Linked DNA regions of Homo sapiens: region 2 is linked to region 1. The links are contacts of gene promoters, found by promoter capture Hi-C in blood cells and fetal thymus (Javierre and others, 2016). All regions are on one chromosome and are shown on one strand. The core of a region is centred on a gene start or on the middle of the fragment in contact, and the rest is flanking DNA. Distances in the headings are between cores, read along the strand shown.

Region 1 (5,718 bases), core at 700-3,199:
TTAGTAGAGACAGGGTTTCACCATGTTGGCCAGGCTGGTCTCAAACTCCTGGCCGCAAGCAATCCGCTCTCCTCAGCCTCCCAAAATGCTGGGATTAGAGGTGCAAGCCACTGTGCCCGACCCCCATCTTAGCTTTTTGAGCAGGCTTTCTCAGACCACTTCTGGTGCCAACTACTGTTGAATCCTCTGGGAAGCAGACACCAAGATAGAGTCACAATTGCAAAAGCTTTTTTGGGAAGACTTGTAAAATGAAAATGAAGGAAGCAGATGGAACAGGGAAAGCCTCTGGATCATAACACAGACTGACAAGTTCTCTCTGTAGACCAAAGGGCCACTCTGGAACAGGCTCAAGTTGGAGGAGTCCTGTATTGGGCAGAAATGAATAGGCCCTTGGGTCCCCACCTTGCTTAGTCAGTGGGCACAGGCTTCTCCAAGAAGAGGGCTTGAAACCGGTGGCAAACCCTCAGAGAACAAAAGGGGCTGTCATGAACCATGCTCATCAAAGCTGCACAGCGAGTCCTTTCTAGAAGAGGGATCTGAACCTGCATGCATCTCCACAGCTGCCATCTGAGGCACTTTTTATCCCCACTGGTTGTCAAATGATCCTTTATTGAAATATTTTCCTTTGTGCTTAACAAGCTGAGCATTCCACTGCACCACTGTTGATGTCATGAGGGTGGTGACCATCAACATTGCAGCCCACAGATGGTGCAGTCCCCGGGATCTTTTTAATTGTTCCAGAGAGTTCCCTAACTAAAGATTGGAGCTGCATCTGTCAGGCAATGTTGACATTCTCATCAAATGATATTTTCATTGGGTTTAATGTTTTTCTGTTTCTTTCTGTCTCCTGGAGGTTCCTTGAGGGCTTTGATGATCAGGGCAGAGGCAGAAGGTACTACCTCAATCTATGCCTGCCTGTTCTGAATGGTTTCACTGTAATCCTCAGATCCTTCAAATCACCGGTTGCCCTAACGATGTCATTACCAATGTGTTTTGGAGACAGACACAGGGGTTTGATCTTAGGGGCCAGCACAGATGTGGCACCAACATCATTCCCGGTGCATCTCAGACTTTAATCTCGTTGGGGTCAAACTTAGGCTGTATGGTGGAGGTAGGTGGTGTTGGATGAACCTGGATTCAGGACCACCAAAGAAAGTTGCACATTGGTCTACTCTGAGCTGAAAATTGAAAGGTGGGGCACCTTTTCTCATGGCAGACACAGGCATAGCTAAGCAAGTCCAAATGCACAAGCACAGGCCTAGCCCCTGCTTGCATCACATCTGCTAATGCCCAGCTGTCTGGAGCAAGTGAGATGACCTACCCTAAAGCCAAGTTCAAGGAAGTACACTCTGCCCACCGTGAGGCCCCAGCAAGGGGGGGTATGCAGCAGGGGAGTGAAGAATTGGGACCAATAATTAGATCCACACAGGATAAAGGTCCTTTGGAAACCATTGAGCTCTGGCCGCATTAGTTACTATGGTTACTGTTACTATTATAGGTTACTACTATTATCACCTGTCCAGAAGACCAGGTACCCTAAGCCAAGTTGTGTCACAGACAGCTCTCAGGAAAGAATCACTTGACTAAACGCCAAAGATCAGGTTTGGGATCTGCAATTCAAAACTGCAGTTTGGGCATAGAAAAGATTAAACGTAGCACAAAACAACAACCACACTATCCTCCCAAAGCCCCTTCCAGGCAGCTCCAGGGCCGGCCCAGCGGATCAATAGCAATCTGGGGTGCTAGGGAGGGCGCCATCTGAGTAGTTCGGAAGAACTGAACATGATGAGTTGCCGGCTGCTTCCTGAGTCCTTGGGGAAGCACACGCACCATCCACTTAGCACTGGAGCCTGGCTGTTCTCCGGGCACTCCTACCCCATCTTCCTGGCGGGGCTTAGATGCTCCTGCCTCTTCCACCAGCTCCTCTTGCCCTGCATGCTTCAGGGACGATGGAGGTCTCGGGGCACCCCCAGGCCAGGAGATGCTGCCCAGAGGCCCTGGGAAAGCTCTTCCCTGGCCTCTGCTTCCTCTGCTTTCTGGTGACCTACGCCCTGGTGGGTGCTGTGGTCTTCTCTGCCATTGAGGACGGCCAGGTCCTGGTGGCAGCAGATGATGGAGAGTTTGAGAAGTTCTTGGAGGAGCTCTGCAGAATCTTGAACTGCAGTGAAACAGGTAGGTGCCTCACCTGGACAGGGTGGGCCTTTTCTCCGTGGTGGCAGCAGTCCCCCAAGAGCAGAGGGCTGCCTTCTAGGAGGCTGGGTCTGGGAGCTGCCTGCCTGGATCCTCCTCATGCCTGGGCACTTTAAGCGAGTAACTTCTTTCTGAACCTCTGTTTTCTCCTCTGAAAAGTGGGGAGACTAACTGCCTCTCAGGGTTGCTGTGAAGAATGCAGGAAAGGCCCTGAGCACCCTGAGGTGCTCAGGAAAGACCAGCTCCCCTTCCTGTGCCTCAGCACCCAGCCCCATCCAGACCAGTGGCCTCAGGGGACGATGGATTACTGGGAATTTGGTGGGGTGGGGTGCATGGGTGAGCAAATCTGGGGCTGGGGTTGGGGGGCTAGCTTGCTTTTCAGAACTATGTCTGCCTGACCCAGGATTCAGTTTGCAGGGATGAGAATTTAGGGAACAACCCAAATTGGATTTAAATTCCAGCAGGAGCACCTGCCACCCACGCCCCCACTTCCTGTTTCAAACTCCTTTTCTGCTGTCTGGCTCAGCGGAGTGGGGAGGTGTTGTGAGAAGACCTGGGGGGAGGGGTGGGGGTCCTGGCTGTTGTCCTGGCTGCTCTCCCAGCTTGCTCTGCAATCCGTGGAGGCAAAGCTTTGTTCTCTCTGGGTCTCAGTCTGCGGGAGAGAAGGGGACCCCCAATCTCAGACTTGGTGGTCACAGGGACCCTGTGAGAAGCAGAGGAGACAAGGAACATTCTGGCTCTTGGAAGACAGAAGTCACTTTATAGTGTCCTCATTGCATTTTCTTCATATTTAGTCACTTGTTTCTACTCTGCTGTGTTCCTCGAAGGAAGCTTGTTATTGTATTCAACAGAGCAAGATAAAACAAGGGAGAGTAGATAAATGAAAAACAAAGGAAAACCAGACACTAAAAGTCAGGAGAAGAATGGGGTGCAGGGAGCCCCTCCCCTCCCACTCTGGTGTGGGGGCTCCTTCCACAGCCCAGACCTTGATTTGGGAACAGGTGCAGCTCCCAGAGACAAGAGGCCAGTCCAGGGAGGCAGAGTCTCCTGTCTGTGGAGGGTCCCACTCCCTGCATCCTTGCCAGACAGACGCCAGCCTGCTCAGTGGACCTGGGAGATTGCTGCCAAAGGGACACTGCACCATCGCAGGGCCTAGACTACCAGCAAGTTCAAGGCTCTCTAAGCCAGCAACACATCAGAATCAACCAGGGAGACTGCCTAGAGTACACATCCCCAGGCTCTTCTCCAAACCCACTTAATCAGGATCTCCAGGGCTGGGCTGGGAATCTTAAAGTTTCAAGGATAAGGCCAAGCATGGTGGCTCATGCCCATAATCCTAGCATTTTGGGAGGCCAAGGTGGGAGAATCATTTGAGGCCAGGAGTTTGAGACTAGGCCTGGGCAACAAGGTGAGACCCTGTCTCTATAAAAAATTAAAAAATTTAGTCAGATGAGGTGGCGTGCACTTGTAGTCCCAGCTACTTGGGAGGCTGAGGCAGGAGGATTGCTTGAGCCTACGAGTTTGAGGCTACAGTGAGCCGTGATTGTGCCATTGCACTCCAGCCTGGATGACAGAGCCAGAGATGTCTCAAAAATAAATAAGTAAAAATAAAGTTTATCAGGTGATTCCAATGCACAGCAGGGTATGGGAACACAGAGCTGGTCCCACTCCATTTTGTACCGATTTTCACTGGAGATTAAAATGTTCCATAAGGGTTAGTTGCATGTAGACCCTGTGGCAAACACTTCACACATTATCTCACCTAATCCTCACAAGAAGCCTCACAAGAAAACAACAAAAAGTTGTCCTTCTTTTACAGATTAGGAAATTGAGGCCTTGGGAGGTTAAGCAATTTGTCCAAGTTCACAAACTAGAAAAATGGAACCAGGGACTTAAACCCATGTATCTGGATTCCAGAGCCTGAACCTTTCACCACCATCTCAGGCTGTCTCTCTGATGGGGAAACTGAGGCTCAGAAAGCAGCCTCTTGTCCACAGTTACAGAACTTATCAGGGTTAGAGCTGGGTCTAGAATCGATGTGTGTAGACTCCCAGGCTGGTGCCAATTAAAAGGAGTAGAGACTTCCTGCTGCATGCCAGGTTCAGTGCCATTCTCTTAAAGCCGAACAAGTCTAGCAGGTGGCCTCTGGGTCCCAAAGCCCACTGGCGGCTCAGGCCAATCGAGCCATTCAGGAACCTCTCTGGGAAACCAGGGTTCCCAACCCTGCTCTGTTAGCCTTGGAACCAATGTGTAGGAAGTCAAGTTTTCCCAGCTCTGTAGGAGACACTCACAGGTAGCTGGTGCCCAAAGATCACAGTATGATGGTATGATGATCAAACTCCATCAAGTTTTTATTTTTATTTTTCTAGATGGAGACTCACTCTGTCACTCAGGCTGGGATGCAGTGGCACGATCTTGGCTCACTGCAACCTCCACTCCCCAGGTTCAAGCAATTCTCCTGCCTCAGCCTCCTGAGTAGCTGGGACCACAGGTGTGTGCCACCACACCCGGCTAATTTTTGTATTTTTAGTAGAGACAGGGTTTCACCATGTTGGCCAGGCTGGTCTTGAACTCCTGACCTCAAATGATCCGCCCACCTTAGCCCTCCAAAGTGTTGCAATTATAGGCGTGAGCCATCGTGCCCGGCAAACTCCATCAAGCGTAATGACCTCCAGGAGTGGGTATGATTTGCATCTGTGTAACAGCTTGCTTTTCCTAAAAGCCTTTTGCTTTTAGTACTTGAGAACCCTGTGTGAGAGGCAGAGCAGAAGTTATCTTCCTTTGAAAGATGATAGAGGCGGGGCGCGGTGGCTCACGCCTATAATCCCAGCCCTTTGGGAGGCTGAGGCAGGTGGATCACAAGGTCAAGAAATTGAGACCATCCTGGCCAATGAGGTGAAACCCCGTCTCAACTAAATATACAAAAATTAGCTGGGCATGGGTGTGGTAGTACGCCCCTGTAGTCTCAGCTACGCAGGAGGCTGAAGCAAGAGGATTGCTTGAACCAGGGAGGTGGAGGTTGCAGCGAGCCGAGATCACACCACTGCACTCCAGCCTGGCAACAGAGCAAGACTCTTGTCTCAAGAAAAAAAAAAAACAGATGAAAGAAATGGCGGTTCAGAAAATTAAAAGGCAAAGACTACACAGCAATGCCAGGGCTAAGCTCTGGTGGGACCCCCATGGGCCTCTCTGTTAGGTGCTCTTCTCACAGGGCTAAGTGGCCTCCTTATCTCCATAGGGACTGAAGGCAGGACCCAGGCTGCAGAAATATTTTAAAGGAGGACTCCGACCACCGAGCTTTGGTGTTGATACTGACCACAAGGCAAAGGGGCTGCTGGTCCTTGGGGAAGACTATCCCTTTCACTGGGGCGGGGCTTGTCTTTACCAGCAGAACCTTTTCCTCAAACTCTTGGTCATGTCTTTCTCCAGTGGTGGAAGACAGAAAACAGGATCTCCAGGGGCATCTGCAGAAGGTGAAGCCTCAGTGGTTTAACAGGACCACACACTGGTCCTTCCTGAGCTCGCTCT
Region 2 (5,622 bases), core at 2,700-5,199, 510 kb before region 1:
CTCATCCTTTCGGAATTTTCAGAAACCAGCGCCCTTGGCCAGGATCTGAAACAGGCTCGCTTTAGGCCAAAACCCAAGTTGTGGTGGTTTGTGTTTTAAAGAATGTTTAATTGCATTTTGCTTTCCAATTTCAAGCAGACATTAGTATCCTCCACCGCCTACGATCCCACATGTTAGTGGCATTCAAGAGAATAAAACTGAGAGTTATCTGAAACAAGTGAAAACAGAACTGCCTGGAATTGGCTCAGGAATAAGAAAATTAGCCCTGCAGGGCCTCACCTGTTGCTTTATACAGTTCCTTAAGGTGTCCCTCCGGTAACCGGATCTGATGGACTGTCAGGTCTACGGTGCCACCGCCACTGTCCACAACCACATACTTATCACCTGGCACAAAAACAGCCATCTTTTACACAGACTGTTTGCCAACCCCATCTGAAACAAGCTTGTGGGTGGTAACTAGGTAGACCCAGCTAAGTGCCCTCAAAACTTCTCATTAGCACAATGGTTTTGCTAATTAGCAGCTCTAGGAGTTAACCATGACCAAAGAGAATGCAATCTGCCCAGGAGGATGGTTAGACATGGACGATGGAGAACCCAGGTGAGTGAATCTAAGATTCACACATTGCTGCATACCTGGCACGTACTTAGTGGGCAGTTTCCTGCCACGTGAATAGTGAGTGCCCTAAAATCATCTGCGTTTCACCAAAGACTTACTCTGGAACTGATCAATTCCAATCCCTACCTGGTTTTACAACATGCAAAATTACAGCTCCCAAAAGAGCTCTCCCTGCATGAGTGGTCTTTAGAACCCACTGAGTTTGAACATTTTCCAAAAGTGCAAAAGGGACAAATGGGAATGGCTTTTCACGAGCAGCACAGGAAAATCCAGCAAGAGCAAAGGACATTGAAGGACGCTACCTTCCTCCAGCTCGGACCAGATTTCTCCTATGACATTCTCCACCAAAAAGGTCCGACTCTGCCGATTACGCCGTATGTGTTCCTTAGCTAGTGGCCGACAGAAAGAAAATGATGACGGGTAAGAAAGCATGAAAAAGCAGAGATCATTTGCAGTCAGTGAAGGCAATAGCATGAGGAGATTTAGGGATGGAACATTAGTGACATTTGACCAAAATAAGTCAATACGATGTCGGGAATCACAAAGCCAGCTCTTCCCAGAGAAAGTGATTTCCACCGGCCTTCCTCTATTCCTCGGCTTAGCCTGTGCCCAGCTGAAAAGCCCACCCTGATGAGATTCTCACAACAACCCTTGGAATTAGGTGGAATTATTATCCCCATTTTCCACGTGAAAAAAACTGAAAGAAGAGAATGTGGTCAAATGTGCGCCACTGCACTCCAACTTGGGTGACAGAGCGAGACTCTCAAATGAGACCTACCCTGGTCACATTTTTTGGAGAATGGGTTAATGAAATCGCCTAGTTTCCCGGCTTTGCTGCCCCAGGGAGGAAGCTATCTGCCAAACAGCCTGCAGTGCGCTCAGTTAAACAATTCCAAATCAAGGAATTTTGTCTGATACAAGGAATTTGGGGTGTGTTTTCCTAACATGCACCCTGGGTAAATAGACTGGGGGGGGGGGCCATTTCCTGACCCAGCTGAAGCCAATATGCATTGCGGCCACAAGGTGGCGCGTCTGGGCCTGGCAAACCCCTGTGCTGCCTTTTCCATGAACACAGGGACAACCTCCGCTCCTGCTGTGGCTTGAGGTGCTGAGTGGCGGAGACGCCTATGTGGCTATGAGAGGGCACAAATCATTGTCCCTATGTTCGGAGAAGGAAATCAGGTCAGGAAAGGTTAAGGGGCTTGCAGTTCCCACAATTTTTTTTTCTTTGAGACGGAGTCTCGCTCTGTCTCCCAGGCTGGAGTGCAGTGGTGCGATCTCGGCTCACTGCAAGCTCCGCCTCCCGGGTTCACGCCATTCTCCTGCCTCAGCCTCCCAAGTAGCTGGGACTACAGGCACCCGCCACCTCGCCCGGCTAATTTTTTTTTTTTTTTTTTTTTGTATTTTTAGTAGAGACGGGGTTTCACCGTGGTCTGGATTTCCTGACCTCGTGATCCGCCTGCCTCGGCCTCCCAAAGTGCTGGGATTACAGGTGTAAGCCACCACGCCCGGCCCCACAATTCTTTTCTTGCAGCCTGAAATTAACCCTTAGACCTTAGGCCCTCGTGCCTTTGAGATTTAACAACAGTGCCCGGCGCCACCCCCATAGTGCTCTCACTTAGCGCTCATATTGGTGCCTTGACCCTGACAGGGCGTGTCTGCAAACCCTATAGCCCTCGACACACCCACAGAGCCCTGGATACCAGGGAACCAAGTTCTGTGACCAAGGCTATGACCTACTTGCATTCAGGTAATTATTAAAGAGGAAAAGCTTTTTAAAATCGCCATCCTCAGTCTCCCTAAGGCGGTGCTCCTTCCCACAGCTAAGCGAGCGTCACCTAGGTCAGGAAAAGTCAGCCGGTTTCATCTGCATTTTAAACTCATCGCACATGAAGCAGACCCAATGAGTGACTCAGCAATAAATCAACAGTCTTAATGGAGAATTAATAACAGGCAATGGAATTAGATTAAGAATCTGTTAATACACAAGAAAGATTAAGAGCCTAGTACAATGTGAGGCCAATAACCGCTCTCAGGCTACCCTCAGATTCTTAGAGAGAAGCTCCCCGCCCCCAGACACTTGGTGGGTGATGAACCAGGGTAACCATGCCTCCATTTATGGGGGTCCTTGGAGGGGCCAGGTAGGGGGGCTGAGCAGAGAGGTGCTTAAAGCCCACCTCCTCCCGGAGTATCCTGATTCTTCATTATGGCACTAAGTGCCTTTAAAATCATCAGAGGGAGAGAGACATCCAGGGCTTGGGAAGGAAGGAGAGCAGGAGGGGGAGAGAGAGAGCAGAGGTACCCTGTGTAAACCCAGCTCCTACTGTGTCACTGCCGCTGTACCCATTGACGGCTGCCTTGCTGCTCAGCTCAATCATCTGGTGTAGCCGCAGCTTTCGGCAGTAGATAGAGGCTGCCTCAGGCTCCAAGGCAATGATGAGCTGCTCCGAGTTCTCGGGGGAGGCCAGGCCTGCCTGGAAGACAGAAACAGAGGCTGGGACCCAGGGCCCCCTGGGCCGGCCTGCTCCTAGGACACCCGTGCCTGGACTGACATCCCTAAGGAGGGCGCACTCGTGCTCTGCATCTGTGGGACATTCTCTACACAGTCCTCTGCAGAGCATAATGTCAGGGTGCCTCGGTACTGGGCCCCAAGCCAGATACCCAAACACCCCAGGGTGGCCAAAGAAAATGTATAGGCACCCTGGGGAAAACACCAGGTGCTCTGGCTGTGGGGCCTCTTGCACTTGGGGCCTCCTTGGCTCAGAGCTGAGCAGCACCATGGGGAGGAGCGGGGGGATTCCGGACTGCAGGAGGCACACGGGCTTCCATGCTCCAGTGGTGAAGGCATGGAGTTGCAGAGACCCTGAAACTTTCCAAACCATCACAGGGTGGAAGGCAGGTGATCTGTTCTCAGTTGTAATATACCACACGGTCTGACCAAATCGGAGCAAACCCCTATCTTTGGTGGCCTTGGAAACAGACCATGGCTGGGCCTCAGCAACACAAGCATTTGACTTTGCTATCTGGGTAACCGACCTGTTATCTCCAGAGCGCTAGGAGGGTTCCTGAGATTTGCCTACTGGGGGTGACAGATAAGCAGTGGCTCCAGGAGGAAGCCCCTCCTGGAATCCCATATAGTCCCTCATTTTCTAGAGTGCGGTTGAGTCAGCAAGAAGATATCTTATTCAAAGCCTCCACCCTTTAATAGTTTTATTATAGACATATATCACATATAGTAATAAATATTCCTTTAACAATCTGATCCCCAAGTTCTCATCTGTGGCTTCCATCTGCAAACATTTGGGGCCTTGGCCTGTAGTAGGCAGAAGTGCTTCTGCTCTGTGACATCTGACCAGTCCCAGTCACCACTCCTGTGGGCCTTCAGAAGGGCCAGCTCAAGAGGCCCTGGGACAACCCTTCTGAGGATGCTCAGAGAAACAGCATGGCTGGGCCTCTAACCAGGTCCCTGGCACCTCTCATGGCCTTGAGCTGCAGCGGGAGGCCCCACTTGCTTCTGGAAACCATTCAGGTACACGGGTGTCCTCAGTTGCCAGCCCGATGGACCACGGAAGAACACTTCATCCCTGCCACTGCCGTGGTGCTGACTTTTTGCCATTTCTTAGGAACCTTGGGATGCTGCCTTCATACCATGCCTACTGGGAGGAAGGCCTCAAGTTCTGTATCAGACCCCTGGGGTTTAGTGCATTCTTCTTGCAGACCAGGTTCAGAAGGTCTCCTAATGTCACACACTCACAAATAACTTCTCATCAGGCGAAGTCGGCCTCATCATGGGCAGAGGGGCTTGGGAGGTCCAATTACTGGGCAAGGAGGGAAGGGGATTTTCAGGTATTAAGAATGCAAAGTGGCCAGGCGTGGTGGCTCACACCTATAATCCCAGCACTTTGGGAGGCTGAGGCGGGCAGATCACCTGAGGTCTGGAGTTCGAGACCAGCCTGGCCAAGATGGTGAAACCCCGTCTCTACTAAAAAAAAAAAATAGCTGGGCATGGTGGGGGCAGTGCCTGTAATCCCAGCTACTCGGGAGGCTGAGGCAGGAGAAATGCTTGAACTTGGGAGGTGGAGGTTGCAGTGAGCCGAGATGGTGCCATTGTACCCCAGCCTGGGTGACAAGAGTGAAACTCCATCTCAAGAAAAAAAAAAAAAAAAGAATGCAAAGGACCTTCAGAGCTATTTATCAACTCCTTCACTTTATGTAGAAAGAGAGGGAGGGTGGCCCACTGTCCCAGTTTGCTCAGGATAGAGAGATTTCCTGGGATGTGAGACTTTCAGTGCTAAAACTGATACTACCAGCAGGCAGGTGACTGAACATCTTCACTCTGTAAATACCAAATGCCTCAAAATGGCAGAACCACATCTGGAAGGCTGACTTTATAAAACCAGATAAGAACCACCACTCTCGTGTCCTGCACTGTCCGTGGCGAACCCTCTTCCCATCACCTAGTACCCTCAGCTACGGCCAACCACCCGGGCAGCATCAATGCCTGTCAGCTCAGCCCATGGGTCAGAGAAGCTGGGTCTGCCCTTAGGTGACATCGGTCAACAGGGCCCTGACTCAGGTGCATGACAGGATTTCCCACTGCCCCCTATTCAAGCAAGTAAAAGTCCCCCCTCCCCAGCTTCACTCTCACAGGGTCACATTAGACATCCTTAGCACAAACATGGCTGGAGGTTAAAGTGAAAGAGGATGTGGCTCTCACACGTATGGTGCCCTCGGGAAAGGTGAAACCTCTGAGCCTGGATCCCAAGGGGTCGGGAGGAAGAAATCCCAAATAAGACCAAGAGGGGCCCCTTCCGAGGGACAGCTCCTGTGCTGATTCTTCCATCCTTGAGGTTGTGGAGTCAAGGACCTCCCAGGAGCATAGAAGGTCCAAGGGGGAAGCTTCCACAAAACGGGGTGAGGAAGAAGGGACAACTTGCTGCAAAGAAACTGCCAGGCCTGTATGTATACAATTCTCCTCCAAAGTTCAAACTTGAAAATAAACTGGG

What was found. The method cuts DNA at HindIII sites, captures the fragments that hold promoters and counts their contacts. A CHiCAGO score of 5 or more calls a contact.
Region 2: a contact is called between a fragment that was not itself captured here and the fragment with the promoter of KCNK18 in region 1, in 3 of 17 cell types (endothelial precursors, M0 macrophages and M1 macrophages). The highest score is 10.1, in endothelial precursors.

Annotation. Positions count from the first base shown.
Region 1 is chr10:117,195,540-117,201,257 of GRCh38, forward strand. It overlaps KCNK18 (potassium two pore domain channel subfamily K member 18), which reads left to right and starts at 1,950. Exons shown (of 3, transcript NM_181840.1): 1 at 1,950-2,172; 2 at 5,620-5,718. The coding sequence starts at 1,950. It also overlaps the pseudogene RPL12P26. The HindIII fragment of the contact is 2,593 bases long and covers 225-2,817 here.
Region 2 is chr10:116,680,873-116,686,494 of GRCh38, forward strand. HSPA12A (heat shock protein family A (Hsp70) member 12A) reads right to left here. Exons shown (of 12, transcript NM_025015.3): 7 at 2,919-3,090; 8 at 919-1,005; 9 at 280-384. Among named protein-coding and RNA genes, the nearest start is that of HSPA12A-AS1, 14 kb to the left of the region's middle. RefSeq lists enhancers at 1,450-1,951, 1,952-2,451. The HindIII fragment of the contact is 3,128 bases long and covers 2,386-5,513 here.